Linked DNA regions of Homo sapiens: all the other regions are linked to region 1. The links are contacts of gene promoters, found by promoter capture Hi-C in human tissues and cell types (Jung and others, 2019). All regions are on one chromosome and are shown on one strand. Each heading gives the region's core, a stretch centred on a gene start or on the middle of the fragment in contact. The rest is flanking DNA. Distances are from core to core; before and after follow the strand shown.

Region 1 (3,111 bases), core at 318-2,817:
TAAGAGTCCACGCACAGAAGCTTGCCTTTTATTACCGCTTCGCTCGAGGCGAAATCGCTGAAAGTTCGGCTATTTAACTCCTGTCCCCATAACTCGGAATCCCGGACACCAGCGGCCCCAGCTGCTGGCGCGCGGCTCTCTTCCAGTCCCCTGGATCCCAAAGCTCCCTGCCACAGCGCGGCGTCTCCTCCTCCTGTCAACTTCCCTCCTTGCACTGTGACGGAGGCAAAGCAACTCAGCCCAGGAGGTTGAACTCGAGTCATCAGAGAAGGAGAAACAGTGCCGAAAACGGCCCGTGCGCTACCAGGGTAGCCCATTAACGCATTAACTCCAGGCTCGTTGGGCAGAAGCCGGGAGGAAACACCCTGGGGACCGCACTCCTGGTTAAATGCCCAGCACGAGTCAAATCCGGCCTTTCCAAAGCGAGCCAAGCCCACTACTACAAAGAGATCCCCCGAGTGTTTTGCCTTAACCACATTTCAGACAGCCAGCTTTGTGGCTGCTGTTTGACTCCAACTTTCCCTCTAAATCTAAAAGGATGCACACTTCCATCAGACGGAACGTCGCGATTCCCCGGCGAAGAAAAAGGCGTCGCCCATTCCTCTTCCAAAACGCTACAACAAAAACCACCACGCTTCCCTTCCTTCTTCCTTGCCCCTTTCCCTTCTCCCAGACCAACAAGGAAAGGAGCGAGCGAGGGCGCAGATGCCCTTTGGTCAAGTACTCCCCGGATGTTCCCGACTAAAGCGTCTCCAAATGAACCTGCAGCCTGCGGAAGCCGGGGACACATTCATAGACGCTCTCTGCTGCCCAGACCAGGAGGGGTGGTGGGGGAACCAGGAAGCCAGGGAGAGAGCAAAGTTCCTGGACGCGTCTCAGGAGGAAAACTTTGTGCAGTGCTGCCAGGCGGAGGCTCGTCAGAAGGCTCCGCAGCTGCTGAGGCGGGGTGGGACTGCGCCCCAGGGGCCGCGCTGAAGCTGGCGCCGCGATTACTGCGCACCGATTTCGCCCACTCTCTGTCCGCTCCCGGGAGCCTTCTCTGTCTCAGGACGGTTCCTTATCTCCCAAACCATGCTCGTCCTCCACTTCGGACCCACAGCCACCCCCAAATCCCGGCTATCCCCGCTTAGCACCGCGGTCTCCAGCACACCCTCCCACTGGAGTAGCAGGTGACCCAAACCAGACTTACCTGCTGTGAACTCTTCTCTCCCTCTCTCTTTTCCTGGTGCCTTTTCAGGGAGAGGGGAACGGGATGCAGGCTGAGGTCCAGCGGCGCGGCAACCCGGGGCACCGGCGCGCGTTCCTCTGAGCCGCAGCCCTGGCTGAGCAAGCGGAGCCGCCGGCAGCCCTGGCAGAGCCGGGAAGCTGCGGCCGCAGGGGCCAGGCCGGGAGGCAGGGGGCGCTGCTGCCTCCCCCGAGAGCCGCGCTAGGACAGGCGGAGAGCAAGGCACCAGCTGGAGCTTTGGGGAGGAGAGGGTGGCGAGGAAAGGCACGCTCCAAACAGGAGGGCGGCTTTTAAGTTTGTGGTGTGACCGCAGCAGCTGTCCTGGGAGAGACTCAGTCTTTCTAAAAAGAGGATGCTGAAAACGCCGGGGATTACCTTTCCCCTTCCGATCTCCTCCCCCAGCCCTCGCCCCCTCCTTCCACTGCGCACGCCAGAACTCCCAAGCGTGCAGAAGTTCATCCCTGCTGCGCGGAGGCTGCCAGCAGCGTGGATTTAGAGGTAGCCCTGGCCAAGCGCTGACGGATGTTTATCAGGACAGGGCACCCTATGTGTAAAGCAACCTCTAACGTCTGATCTTCCTTCTGGGTGACTTGGGGACTTCTTTAGTTCCTTCTCTATACCATAAAACCTGTTAAGGGACCCCATGAGGAAGAAACAGGGAGAGTGACCACAAACACCGTCCTAAAAATGCTAATCCCACAAAACAGTACCTGCGTTCCACTATGTAAAACCTCAATCCACGGTTAATGGCCTTGACAAGGCAGGCATAGGGATGAGGAACAGGGATCAACCCTCCGTTAAGGGGCTGGCACCCGATTAAGACCAAACAGGGAGAGATAAAAACGAGTAGAATGTAATCCTTTCTTCCTCTTTCCCTTACGCCAGACCTACAAAGAGGTGTGCCTCATATCCTTGTCTTCGGGAGTTTTTTAGATTTTTGCACCCCTTATTCACACAGTAGGAACTTAGAAGTATATAATGACGAGAAGATCTAAGTTTTGATGAACCTGGATCCTATGCAATTGGAATAGAGGATCCTCTTTAAGCAAAAGTAATGCAGAAATATCTCACTTCTACAGATTCTGCAAAAATATATGACAATGAGAGTTCATGAGGCCACCGTCAGGGACATTAAAAAGGCCTGTGCATTTGGTGAGCCCTGTACGTTAGGCATTTTTAGCTGCATGGTAAATCCTTTGTGATGGGATATCCAGGTTTATAGTCACACACCTTGCCCTTAGTCCCAAACATAAATCTGACATGAGGTAGAGACATGGAAAGCAAGCAGCCACGGGATCCTGCATTTGTCAGCTTGATTTAAGAGCACAAGGTGTAGGGTCCCAAAGCTTCCTTAGCAAGTAACAAGAGATATCTTGATTTGGAGATGGTGAACAGACAAATGCAGTAATGGAATAACTGAAAGGGGTGGAAGACATTCTTCATTTGACCTTTTATCTGTGGCAGAGGGCTGAGGGCCACAGAAGCTAAAGGAGTCATTTTAAGTTATAAATGGTTGATGGCAGAGTCAGGCTAAGGAAAGGCTCAGGTTTCTCAAATCTGACCAAGGCTCTTTCTTGTGTCTCATGCTGCCCCATCTCTATAACCTTGGTTTGGACTCACAACCAATCAACCCCATAAATACCCTCTTTGGATAGAGAAAAAAATTTTAAATCCTCGTAGACTATTTCAAACTATAGCAACTTTTATTTTTTTTCTGAATGCTTTATATTTAATGTTATACCACTCATTCTGTACATAGTCATGCAATTGTTTATTGTATGTTTCTATGTGTTTATATTATTTTCATTTGTATATGTCATTGCACTTCCATGCAAATTGCAATGTCATTGTGCAAATAAAATATCTCTTTTTTTCTCCCGTATATG
Region 2 (3,111 bases), core at 441-2,940, 1.5 Mb before region 1:
AACACGGTGAAACCCTGTCTCTACTAAAAATACAAAAAAATGAGCCGGCCGTGGTGGCGGGCGCCTGTAGTCCCAGCCACTCAGGAGGCTGAGGCAGAAGAATGGCGTGAACCCAGGAGGCGGAGCTTGCAGTGAGCCGAGATTGCGCCACTGCACTCCAGCCTGGGCGACAGAGCGAGACTCCGTCTCAAAAAAAAAAAAAAAAAAAAAGAAAAGAAAAAAAGAAAAGAAGTTGAAGGAGATGAACTGATCTCTGGGAATAGAGTCTGCCGCCATCCTTCCTGCATCAACCAGGGGTGCTCTTCTCAGGGGTAAGAGTTTCATTTTCTCCCAGTGATATATTCAACCCTAATTAAATCAATTTTCCTAACTTGCCCCTGAACCCCTGGACACTTATACCCTAGGGTTATTTTTTTTCTGGTAGAAAAGTCCTCAGGACTCCATTAGATTCCTGCACATTCTCTGGAGCTGCTGGATCTCAGAACCATCCTGCTGAAAAGTGTTCCTTTCTATTGCTCATCTAGCTATCTCATTGAACCAGAGACCCTAGACCTGACCTATGAGCCCTTCAACTGCCTCCCTCATATCTGGAAGTTCCCAAGCCAGGTTTCTCTGAGCATGGTTTCAGCCAACCGTTTTCTGCCATCAGCCTCTGCAAGATGTGGCTGGACGTCAGCGTCCTTAGGCTAGGGGAAGACCTCTTGCCTTTGCAGCATTGTTAGGGCCTCCTTTATTCCTGAACCCTGCAGAGAACTGATCTTCCTACTGTTTGAGTAACCACTGTTTTGTGGTATTTGTGTGGTTTTGGCAGCCTAGGGCTCAAAACTCAGTGTGCAAACAGCAGCTGGCAGCAGTCAGAGGGCCTGTTTGTTTCTCTCAGCTCTACCTTTTCTGAAGAACCCAAGAGAAGCAATTAGGCCATACTTGAAAGTGAAGCCCTACAAAGAGTCTGCTCTCATAACTTGTCTCTACTCTGCCTTGAACCTCCCAAGAGAATATTACTGCTCCAGCCTCCTTGCCAGGCGCTGCTGGTGGAAATAGAAAACTAAAACTCAACCATTCTGTGTCCAGCAATATCTTGCCCTTACTGTGTCTTTGCAGAGGGCTTCCCTTTTGTTACACCCTGATTCTTGTAAATAGCATATATGGCTAGGTGTCAAGAGAGTTTCATTTGTTTCTTTATCTTGCTCATAATCTACAGAAGGAGGTAGGTTTGCAGTACATTACTTCTTTCAATTTTGAGCTAAATTCAGTATTTCTTACTCTACGGGTAATGCAAAGTAGTAATCTACATGCCAGTACTACCCCTTACCTAACCTTCCTCCAAACTCCATCCAGGTTAGTCAGCTTTTTTTTTTTTTCTTTTTTTAAACAAGGGGAAATTCTGGAGAAAGTCATCCTTGTTGGTAAAGCAAAAAGATAATGTTTTTAATAGAAATGGGTGAAGCAAAGAATGTTTATTCATGCACAGATATGGCCTGATAAAATTTCTTTATAATATTCCTGCTCATGTCAAAGAGATCCAGTATCAAAAAAGGTAAAAGGACTACAACATTCAATTAATAAAATGCAGGCGGGCAAAGACAAGAGGTGGGGACCTTTAAGGAAAAGCACTAACAAGCTGCATGTGGTGACTCACACCTGTAATCCTAGCAGTCTGGGAGATTGAGGAGGAAGGATTGCTTGATACTAGGAGTTTGAGACCAGTCTGGGCAACATAGCAAGATCCCTGTTTCTAAAAAATATAAAAAAAATTAGCTGGGCCTTTTGGTGCATGAAGAAAGAAAGAAAGAAAGAGAGAAAGAGAGAAAGAGAGAATGAGAGAAAGAAAGAGAGAAAGAAAGAAAGAAAGAAAGAAAGAGAGAGAGAAAGGCAAAGCACTAACAAAAACCCAACTATATGAAGAAACATAGGCCATACTCTTGAAGGGATAATTAGTGTAGTTAATATTAATTCTCCCCATACTGATCTATAAATATGTGATGGAATTCTAATCAAAATCCTAATGGTATTTTTCACAGAAATTGACAGGTCGTTCTTAACTCCATATGCAGTATTAAAAGTCCAAAATTAGCTAATGCATTAGCAAAAGGAACAATGGTGGGAGAATACCATTCCAGATAACAAGGTTTAATATAGTGTTATAATAATTAAAACACTACAGATAAATAAAAGACAATACAGAACTCAGAAATACAAACATGAACATGAGGAAATTGAATATGGCAAAGGTGGCGTTCCAAATTAGAAGAAAAGCATAGATTGGTGTTAAAAGAATTGGCTATTCACATGGAAAAAATTAGATAATTATCACATACATAAATTTCAGATAGATTGAAAAATGTGAAAGGTAAAATTATATATTAAAAGCAAAACTTTAGAACTTCCAGAAAAAGTATAGAAACATTCTTACTGTAAGATAGGGAAGAATTTCTTTTTTAAAAAATTATTATTTTATTTATTTAATTTTACTTTTTTAAATTTTACTTTAAGTTCTGGAATACATGTGCAGAATGTGAGGGTTTTATACATAGGTATACATGTGCCACGGTGGTTTGCTGCACCTATCAACCCGTCATCTAGGTTGTAATCCCCCGTTTGCATTAAGTATTTTTCCTAATGCTCTCAATATAGGGAAGAATTTCTTAACATTCCAAAACACAAAACATTAAAAAATATATTTTAAAAAGACCCTTCAGTTCTACTAGTAAACCTAATTTTTGACTTCTTGAACTGATGGTCATTACATGGGTACGTTCACCTTGATATAATTTATTTGCACTTAAGATTTGTTCATTTTTAAAATATATACTTTAGTTGAAAGTTACATTTAAAAATCCTTGTTGACAAAAAAATTAATTAAAAAATTCAAAGCAAAGTCACATTCCTCAAGAAGCTATATTCGACATATTCAATTAATAAAAGCTTCAAAATGACATCAAAGAACTGCAAAAAATAAAAAATGTATATAAAAGTTGCTCCTGGAAATTATCGAATGGCCAATAAGCCTATAAAATGATATTTATTTTCAATAACAACTAGGTTAATACAAAATATAAAGCAGTTTCACTTCACATTTAAAACATTTGGGTAAAAATTACAATTGTTTAC
Region 3 (3,111 bases), core at 370-2,869, 1.0 Mb before region 1:
TCTCTCAGTATCAATGTGCTGATGTTTATATAGTTGTGAACAGAAGTATTGTCACAGAGGAGATAGTTTTTCCCTACTTGACAGCTAAAGAGAAAGGCCAGTCAGATAAGTATTAATTTAGGTCTGATGAACCACAAATGGGCAAAGCAGACATTGATCTGCCTTGCTAAGTAATTTCACAGGCGTCAGAACGTTTTTTTTAAAAAAATCATTTAGTCTCATTTTGTTATGTTAGATCTTAAATAGTTGTCTGGAAGAAGGGCTTAAATGACAGAAAAGATGTCTGTATATTAGAATGTGCAAAGGAAACCGTAATCCTGTACTGACTAGGCACCTTGGGAAGTAAAAGAAGTCTGAGACTCTATTGAACACGGGGATCATGTGGTGAAAGTAAGAAACTCTGTAGCTCTGGGCCAGTGCGGGAGAGCCTAGCTTGAGATTGATCTGCTAAAAACAAAAGGTTTCATTTTTGAGGGTTGGAAAGTTTTCCCATATCCCAAAACGAGAATTAACAGGATTTTGTTTTTGAAAGGATAGCATTAAATGAGATTTATTTGGAGAAGTCAAAAGATATAGACTGAAGTACTACCAGGTAAAAAGGTGGGGGTATGGGTAAGGGGAGAAATCCTTTTTTTTTTTGCAATATACTTCAAACCTGGAAAGATAGAAGGCAATTATATTGGGGGAATCTGTGTGCTGATCAGACCCTGCACCCAGCATAACTTTCACTCTGGAGCTTGAAGAAACAGAATAGAAACATTACGTGCATGCCTTTAGAGGCAAGACAAGTACTAAGGTCCAGAGCCAATATAATGAGGAGGCTTAGTGGAAGGGTGGCAGAAAGGAGACTCTTGGTAACTTTTTAAAGTACCAGTGCCCAGAAGAGAGCAGAGAACTTGGTTAGACAGCAACATTGAACAATGGAACGTGCCCTGGGAAGGTCAACCACAAATGACAGATCACAGCCAATCATGAACTGCTTAAGACCTGACACAAAGCAAAGGGAGAGACTGTCTCTCAAGACCTGTGTCCAAATCCTTTATTCTTGTGCTCTAATAACTGGTGTTTTAATTTCAGTAATTCCCAATTAAATGTAAAAAAATTAGAAAAATAACGGTATATGACTTTTCTTGTACTTGAGTATTGTGGATATACACAACACACACATACTAAATATAAACCCATGAATTTATGTATTTCTTTATCTATATACAATTCTTCAAAGTACAAGGAATTATACCATTTTGAACAAAATTCCAGAAGTGACTTTTTTCTGTGTTGCCGGGTACCATGAACCTACAACGTTGTCTAATATATATTATCAAATATTTCCAGACTTGTTGTGAAGACTTTATTCACAACTTGCTGTTGAATTAAAGAAATAATAAGGGGCTGGGTGTGGGTGTGGTGACTCATGCCTGTAATCCCAGCACTTTGGGAGGCCAAGGTGGGCAGATCATCTGAGGTCAGGAGTTCGAGACCAGCCTGGACAACATAGTGAAACACCATCTCTACTAAAAAAATTTAAAAAATAAAAAAAATAAAAAATTAGCCAGGCATGGTGATACATGCCCATAATCCCAGCTACTCAGGAGTCTGAGGCAAGAGAATCACTTAAACCTGGGAGGTGGAGGTTACAGTGAGCAGAGATCACGCCATTGCACTCCAGCCTGGGTGACAAGAGAGAAACTCTGGCAGGAAAAAAAAAAAAAAAAAAAAAGGAAAGAAATAATGAGTTAATTCTAAAAACATGAAGAAACCATCATTATAAATCATTTTATGTTATAGTTTTAAAAACTGATAATAAAAGTGTTTTCTACATCAGATAACCAAAATCAACGTCCTTTTCTTTTTTCCTTTGGTAAGAAATAACCCTGCTTCTGTATTTTGTAGATAAATTCCAAAAAAGAAATAGAGAAGCCCAACTGACTGACCACTCTAGAAGGTCCTCACAAGTAGGTGTCACTTGTCCCTCCTGATCTCACTGTCAGTCAAATATAGACAACCACGTATCAACTCTACTCTATGAAGTTCCTAGCCTGCTATGCTGCAGCTCTAAGTCATATAAATTATTCTAAATATATTGCTGTTTTCCTAAAAAGAAAATCAAATCCAAAGAAATAGTTTCTGATACAGTAGTCACCACTCTTCTCTACTTTTACCTTCTCATATTTGTCCTATCATTCAAGGCCCACCTTCTTTGGGTCCTAGTTTAAAAAGCCACCCTAAAATCTTTAGGTAGATGTGACATCACCTTTCTCAAAAATTCTACAATATTCACTTTATTTATCCAAGAATCTATTCATAAAGAAATCTGACAGATGAGTTATGTGGCTTTATGTGTCTATTTTATACATAGAACGCAAGTAAGAAATAGTTAATAATGGTGCTTTTGTAAATAAAGTTTGCAGAACTTATGAAAACGTACTTTCATTTAAGCTAGTTCTTAAGGGATAATAACAACGGAACAGCATTTATTCTCTTGAAATTCAAAGTTGAAGGTTAAAAGAAAACAAAATTTCTGACCCATATTATGAAGATTCATAAGCACTTTGACAGCTTGATTTGACCTCAGGTGTAAACAACTTTGTTTTAGCTATGCCCAAATACATTTCTAAGAGTTTGGATTACACTTGGATTACACAATCATTTTTCAATACCACTTAATAACTATGATTTGTACATAATAACAATGCTGCTAGTAGTTGTCCCATTGTCCTTTCCTGGCAATATTTCTACCATGTCACAATAACTACATATTTAAAAAAAAAAAAAGAATTTTCCAACGAACATTGTAAGTTCATTTTATTCTAAATACCAATCTATAGATCTATATATAAGTGGCCTAAGGAAATTAGCCTACTATCCTCTCCCACCCTCTCAATCAGTATCTTAAACAAAGAATTCAACATATATTTTTCATGTTCACACTTTAGCAAATATTCCCATGGTATTTCCTATCACATCTACTCTCTTGAGTAAGTCTGAGGATGGAAGTGGATCATACTCTGAGGCTGTGGAACTCAAGGGCAAGGGAAGAAAAAGGATGACTTGGAGATGTAGCTTAGGGAGCAATGAGCAAGTGTTGCTCTTGACAAGTGTAGGAGGGGA

The links. Contacts are between HindIII fragments. The study calls those that stand out against the background at their distance.
Region 2: a contact is called between a fragment that was not itself captured here and the fragment with the promoter of SEMA3D in region 1, in 1 of the 25 tissues and cell types used here (H1 embryonic stem cells).
Region 3: a contact is called between a fragment that was not itself captured here and the fragment with the promoter of SEMA3D in region 1, in 1 of the 25 tissues and cell types used here (spleen).

What each region holds. Positions count from the first base shown.
Region 1 is chr7:85,185,489-85,188,599 of GRCh38, forward strand. SEMA3D (semaphorin 3D) reads right to left here and starts at 1,568. Exons shown (of 19, transcript NM_001384900.1): 1 at 1,190-1,568. RefSeq lists a silencer at 1,380-1,439. The HindIII fragment of the contact is 9,968 bases long and covers 1-3,111 here.
Region 2 is chr7:83,731,744-83,734,854 of GRCh38, forward strand. No RefSeq gene overlaps it. Among named protein-coding and RNA genes, the nearest start is that of SEMA3E, 84 kb to the left of the region's middle. The HindIII fragment of the contact is 6,001 bases long and covers 1-3,111 here.
Region 3 is chr7:84,183,994-84,187,104 of GRCh38, forward strand. All of the region lies in intron 1 of SEMA3A (semaphorin 3A), which reads right to left. Among named protein-coding and RNA genes, the nearest start is that of SEMA3A, 9.2 kb to the right of the region's middle. The HindIII fragment of the contact is 8,232 bases long and covers 1-3,111 here.